2 separate regions of the Homo sapiens genome follow, and region 1 is linked to region 2. The links are contacts of gene promoters, found by promoter capture Hi-C in blood cells and fetal thymus (Javierre and others, 2016). All regions are on one chromosome and are shown on one strand. Each heading gives the region's core, a stretch centred on a gene start or on the middle of the fragment in contact. The rest is flanking DNA. Distances are from core to core; before and after follow the strand shown. Region 1 has its middle 36 kb from the start of ZNF354C. Region 2 holds the start of GRM6 (glutamate metabotropic receptor 6).

Region 1 (3,591 bases), core at 98-2,597, 100 kb after region 2:
TTTGTATCTTTCTCCAAGTTTGGAAAGTTTTCTATTATTATTTCTTTAAATAAGCTTTCTACCTATATTTCTTCCTCAGTTCCCTCTTTAAGTCCAATAATCTGAATATTTGCTGGTTTGATGTTGTCTTATAGATCCCCTAAGCTTTCTTTATTCCTTTTCATTATGTTTTCTTTCTCTCTTCCATGTATTTTCAAATAGTCTGTCTTTGAGCTCACTGATTCTTTCCTATGTTTGATCAGTTCTGCTGTTGATGTTCTCTATTGAAATTTTCATAGTATTTTTCAACTCCAGGATTTCACTATTTTTTTCTTTTTTGAGATGGAGTCTTGCTCTGTTGCCCAGGCTGGAATCCAATGGCATGATCTTGGTTCATTGCAACCTGCACCTCCTGAGTTGAAGCGATTCTCCTGCCTCTGCCGCCTGAGTAGCTGGGATTATAGGTGTGCGCCACCATGCCTGGCTAATATTCATGTATTTAGTAGAGACAGAGTTTCACCATGTTATCCACGTTGGTCTTGAACTCCTGACCGCAAGTGATCCACCAGCCTTGGCCTCCCAAAGTGCTGGGATTTCAGGCATGAGCCACTGTGCCTGGCTGATTTCACATTTAAAAAAATTTTTGTTTTAATCTTTCTGTTAAATTTGCTGGTACATTTCTGAATTAATCCTATGTGTTTTCCTAAAGTTTGTTGAGCTATTTAGAACAGCTATTTGGAATTCTTTTTTTTTTTTTTTTTTTTGAGACAAGAGTCTCACCTCTGTCACCCAGGCTGGAGTGCATGGAGTATAGTGGGGCTATCTCGGCTCACTGCAGCCCCCGCCTCCTGGGTTCAAGTGATTCTTCTGCCTCAGCCTCCCGAGTAGCTGGGACTACAGACGTGCACCACCACACCCGGCCAATTTTTGTATTTTTAGTAGAGATGGGGTTTCACCATGTTGGCTAGGATGGTCTCGATCTCCTGACCTCGTGATCTGCCCACCTCGGCCTCCCAAAGTACTGGGGTTACAGGTGTGAGCCACTGCGCCCAGCCTGGAATTCTTCATCTGAGACATTAAACATCTCCGTCACTTTGGTCTGCCTCTGGCACCTTGTTTTCTCTGTTTGGTTAGGTCATATTTCCTTGAATGTTTTTGAGCTTGTGGATGTGCAACAATGTCTGTGCATTTAGGGACTGAAGATTTATTTTAGTCTTCACAGTCTGGCCTCATTTGTGCCTGCCTTTCTTCAGAGGGCCTTCCAGGGATTCTAAGCCCACTATTGAGTTCCCTGAGCCTGTGACCACTGTACCCATCTCAGCACTGGAAGATGCTCTATGCCCAGGCTTGCTGTGAGTCTCATGAGGACTTTGAGGTTTTGAGTCCCAGATGGACCTGGGGAAGACCCAAGGAATGGATATACTGGGGCTGTGTGGGAATGCTAGCCAGGGACCTGGGTCTAGAAGACTGTACTGTAGGCTCAGATGGGTGTGCCTCCTCGCAGATCTGAGTCTAGAAGACTGTACCGTAGGCTCAGATGGGTGTGACTCCTAGCAGGTCTTTGCATAGGTGGAATGGGTTCCTTACTGCAGCAAGAGGAGCTGGAGTTGAGACTGGGTCCCCTTGGAATCTGCTGTGGGACAAAGGCTGGAGAGCCCATTATGTTGGCCCAGATAGGTGAGCATCTCCCAGCAGATCTTGGAACAGATGAGATAGTTCTCTGATTGCAGTGGGAGGGGCTGGAGCTGAGACTGGTTCCCCTCAGGATCTGTTGTGGGATAAGATTGGCAAGCCTGTCAGGGAGGCTCAGACTCCTGGGATTGAGGTATGAGTGAGTCTCCCTCTGGGTTCTTGTGTGAGCAACTCTGAGCTAGGACCTACATGGGAGTGATGGGGACTGGAGCTGAGCCACAAGGCAACTTTGAGGTTTACTTCTAAGATGGAGGTGACGAGGCAGATGCCTTTCCACCAAGGCACTAGGGTACACAATTCCTTCTGGATCCTTTAACAGATGGTTTTGGTTGCAGGTTCAAAGTCAAACAGTACGGTAGCCAAAGCCCCTTGGGGGACTGGGCCATTTCTGGGCTTGAACCCAGGAACAAGATTGGTGGATCAGCCAACTGGTGTTAGTCTGCACTCTCAAAATAATCCTCCAAGATCTTGGGCTCCACCAATATTTCACAAACTCCTATCTGAATCCTGAGGCAGAGAGACTTTTGATTCTGGATAGGCGCAGAATTCTTGTTGTTGTGGGGAGATGTGAGCAGGTTACCTTCTATTCTGCCATCTTGGTGACCAGAATTTTCTAATTTTCAATGTTTTTTTGACCTGTGATTTATTTAGAGGTATGATTTTTAAATTTCAAAAATATATTTTAGCTAAATTTTAAAATATTGATTTCTAATTTAATTTTGTAGTTAAGTTACATTAAGTAAAAAATCATTTCAATTTATTATTATTCTTTAATTGTCCAATATGTTGTCAGTTGTCATAAATATTTTGTATGTGTTTGAAAAGAATGTGAGTTGTTCAATTGTTGGAGGCTCAGAGATATATGTGTTTTCCTTAGATCAAGCTTGTTTGTTGTATTATTCAAATTATATATTATTATTTTTTCTGCTGAGCTATCAATTACTGAGAGACATGTTAAACTTTTTCCCTAGGATGGAGGCTTTGTCAATTTCTCCTTGAGGTTATGACAACTTTTGATATATTAACCAGGTTAATTGAACTTTGATATCTTTATAATATTTATTTCATGACCCTTGTCTATCCAGTAATTTTTTTTTGCCTGAAAATCAAAAGCCCTGTATATACAGAATTATGGTGATATATATTAGAAACACTGTAGTTTAAATTGCTTTAGAAATAAGGAAGAAACTGCCACATTTGGGAACTTTGCTAGGAATTTAAATGCCTATTCTCTTTCACCACTAAAACTTTGTGTTACGGGTTTGTCACACATTATTGGAAATGGCACTTAGTCTAATTCCAATTGTTAGAAATAGACAATTTTATATTAAAAGTTGAAATATAGGTTCCAGAAATTTCTGATTTGATAATTTAGGCCAAATATCCTGCTGAAAACAGCTAAAAAGGCAAACGGCTGAGCAAGAAAAAAAAAATGGCTGAAAGGTGAGGAGGGGATTGGAATTCAGAGAGGCGAGCCATAGCCACTAGAAAACTTAAACAATCATATGAACCAACTTGACCTAACTGACACCCCCAGAGCACTTTAGCCAACAACAGCAGACTACGCATTATTTTCAACACATACAAACCACATACCAGACCATTTACAAAGTCTCAATACATTTAAAAGGATTGAAATAACACAAAGTATGTTTTTCTGGCCACAATGATAGTAAATCAAACACAGGAATAAAACGGGCCCAGGCACAGTGGCTCACGCCTGTAATCCCAGCACTTTGGGAGGCTGAGGCAGGTGACTTACTTGAGGTCAGGCATTCGAGACCAGCCTGGCCAACATGGTGAAACGCCATCTCTAAAAATATAAAAATTAGCTGGGTGTGGTGGCACACACCTGCAATCCCAGCTACTTGGGAGGCTAAGGCAGGAGAATCGCTTGAACTTGGGAGGCAGACGTTGCAA
Region 2 (3,239 bases), core at 24-2,523:
TGCAATATCACTCGAGCGCTCCGCAGGCCCAGGGGGCAGGAGCACCTTGTATGGTTGCAGGGGTGTGCCCAGAACAAGGGCACCCGAGCAGGCTGGCAAATGGGGGCTGAAGTCAGGCCGCCCTCCCCAGCCAACCGGCCAGAGGCGTAGGTGGCACCCGCCCGGGAAGGGGCGCCCTCGCGGGGCGGGGTAGACATGGGCGGCTGGAGTGTTTGGGTGGAGCCGATTCAGGCCTGCGTCGGGCTCAACTGACAGGGCTTCTTTGACGCTGTGTGAATTCGAGTGATTAAAACGGAGACTCTTTCAGAAGAAGTAAAGGAAGGAGACTTGGGCCACCCCAGGGCGAGGACGGGAGAGGGACGCTGGACACCGAGCCCGGCCCCGCGGCCCTCACCGCAAACAGGCGCAGCACGTTGGCGACCATGATGGAGACGGAGCTGGCCGAGGCGCCCACGACGGCCACGACGCGCTCGGGGGGCGCGGGGCGCAGCGGAGGGACGCCTCCCGGGCAGCGCACGCCCACCTCGTCGCCGTCGCCGCGGCCGCGGATCAGCGCCTGCACGAAGCTCAGCGCCTGCTCCAGCGCGTAGGTGTCCCGCGAGCAGGTGTCCAGCAGCCGCGCGCCCAGGCGCACGCCGGGCAGCAGCTCGGGGTCGGCGTTGACGCGGTCCAGCGCGTACAGCATGGCCTCCAGCCGGTGCACGCCCTGCTCCTTCTTCAGCTGCCCGCACGCCCGGCCCGCCGCGCCCCGCGCGTGCACCGGGAACAGGCCGCCCAGCGTCAGGCCGCCCGCCAGGCGCACAGAGCCCGCCGCGCGCGCCAGGCCCGCCTGCGCCAGCCACGCCAGCGGCAGCAGCGCCACGAGCAGCGGCTCCCGGGCTCTCCGGGGCCGCGCCATCGGCTCGTCTAGCGGGCTGCGGGGAGACAGAGGGGCGGGGAGCGCTCTGAGGGCGGGGGAAGGAGAGCGCGGGCTCGGGGCGCGGGGAGGGACACCGGGGTCCTGGGGAGAAGGCGCTCGGGGCGCGCCTTCCACTTCGGCTCTGGGGAGTTAGCTCAGCCGGCCTGCCCGGGCCTCCGTCTCGCTCTTACAAGCGCCGAACCCTGTCGCCCGGGGTCCCGCCCGACCACTGCCTCCACCCCTCCAGCCCTGCCGCTTCCCGACAGCTTGGCCCCTCTTCCTCGGGGTCCATCCCCAGCGCACACCCAGGCTCCCGCCCCAAGCCAGTCACCTGCGCCAGCCGCTGTCGGTTCAGGACAAGTCTGTGACAGATGCGGCCGAGGCCCTGAGCGAGAGAGGATTTAAGGATTCTAGGGAGGGATGAGAGACCGCTCCGAGGGTGGAGACCCCTCCTGAGTGTGGGGGGTGGCGGTGCTGGCTCTCCCCGCATCTCCTTCCCCTCCCTCTCCCAATCTCTGGGTCTGTTTTCCTGTTTTCTTGTCTTTGGTTTGCGTCTGACTCAGACTGTCTGGCTGTCTCTGGGGCTGTGTCTGACACAATCTCTGTCCATCTCTATCTCAGTCTTCTTCTGCCTCTAGGTCTCTGTTTCTCAGTCTCTGTCCCTGGCTTTCTGCCTCTGTCCTCTTCTTGGAAATCTTTTCTGTCTCTGTCCCTTCCTGTCTCTCCCTGCGGTTATCTCTCTCTGTCCCTGACCCCTTTTCTGTCTCTCTGTCTCTGTCCTGGCCACCAGTGCTCCTGACTGCAGTTGCCTAAGGTATTCCCCAGCTTTCTCCTTGCAGAACCCTGCAGGGGGCAGGGGCTGCCTGAGCTGGGAGGGCCTAAGGAAGAGGAGGAAGAGCGAGGGGCAGGAAGGGGCCAGGAGGGAGAAGCCTTTAGTATTAGCGAACTTACAACACCCTGCAGTCGAGAAACAGCCCTCGAGGAGTGAGTTGAGTTGCCCAAGTGCATGCAGCTGGCATGTGTGGGCATCAGGATTCACACCCAGAATGGCATGAAACAAACAGCCCACACTGCCTTGGATGGAGGGAGGGGAGGGGCCGGCTTTCCTCGCAGCTCCCACTCCCGCCTATTGCTTGGGAGGATGGAACCCCGCGGGGTCGTTCTGGCTCCGTATAAAGTCTCCTCGGGCTCTGGGTCTGAGGCAGCCACTCGAGCTGCGGTGCTCACTGTGCCAACGCTCTCTGCACCTAACTCCCCATCTCATCGTGGAGGCCAAGGTGAGGGGGCTTGGCCAAAAGATGCTTTTATCATCCCCCCATCCGAGGCCCAGGATTTGGCTCTCTGATGCCAAGAGAGCAAAGGGCGTCCTGGAGACAGGTGGTGAGCTCCTAGCCACAGGGATTAGCAGGCTCCTCGTCCGAGGGCCTGAGCCGGCTTGGGCTCCATTAGACAGGCTGGATTAGGGTGGCTGCGGGGATTTGGACAAGGCTGGTAGAGGGAGCAAGCAAGAAACATGCCACCTTTCTCTCTTCCCCCGCCTCTCCCAGGCCCCGATAGTTTCTACTGCCAGAACCACTTCTCCTGGTGGAAGCCCAGAGTCAACAGGCTGGGCCTAGCCCTGCTCCTATCCATTTTAACAGTGGGAAGGGTGGGGAGCTTGGCTGGTGCCAGGCCCTGAGCCTGACATTGCGAAGGACTGCATAAACTGGGTTTGGGAGGTGGATGGGCCCTTCCCTGTTCAGGACGAGCCTGACAGCTCCCAGCACACAGCAGCCTCCTGCTTGGCATGACCAAGGCAGCCACTGCCCCTGTCTGGAGGACAGACCATCAGGAAGCGGGGGCAGCAGCTGGGGGACTGGCAGGGGGTCCTCGCCGTGTAGGAGGGAGGCATGCACACCTGTGAGCAGGGGGCTGGAGGAGAAGGGGAGGGGGGTGGCAGGATTTTAGACCTGATGGAGATTTGGCTCTTGGAGGGGTGGAGGATGGCATAGCTGCTGGGGCATTCCCTGAGAATATGAGGACCAGAGACACAGCTGAGCAGGTCAAGGAGGGCAGAAGCCAAGAGTTCGGGTTTGGGCAGGAAAGTGGAGGCTTCGTGGTTCATGAGCCTGGAACTGAGGGAAGAGGCCAGGGCGGGAGAGAAAGCTGAGGTGGGATCGCCACGGAGGCGTTTAAAGCCGTGGGACGCAGGAGTTCCCTGGGGCTGAGAGTGTGGACAGACAGTGAGGCTGGAGCCCCAGGAACCCCAACATGCAGGTCTGAGCAGAAGTAAGGAGACTGGGAGGGGGTGGCCGAGGAGTTAGAGGAGAAGCAGGAGCGTAGGCACCAGAGGGGCCCAGAA

What was found. Contacts are between HindIII fragments. The CHiCAGO score rates a contact against its expected background, and 5 or more counts as called.
Region 1: a fragment that was not itself captured here is called in contact with the fragment with the promoter of GRM6 in region 2 in 3 of 17 cell types (megakaryocytes, total CD8 T cells and neutrophils); the score reaches 5.8 in megakaryocytes.

What each region holds. Positions count from the first base shown.
Region 1 is chr5:179,094,925-179,098,515 of GRCh38, forward strand. No RefSeq gene overlaps it. Among named protein-coding and RNA genes, the nearest start is that of ZNF354C, 36 kb to the left of the region's middle. The HindIII fragment of the contact is 2,410 bases long and covers 143-2,552 here.
Region 2 is chr5:178,994,047-178,997,285 of GRCh38, forward strand. GRM6 (glutamate metabotropic receptor 6) reads right to left here and starts at 1,274. Exons shown (of 11, transcript NM_000843.4): 1 at 1,230-1,274; 2 at 395-914. The coding sequence starts at 898. The HindIII fragment of the contact is 9,329 bases long and covers 1-3,239 here.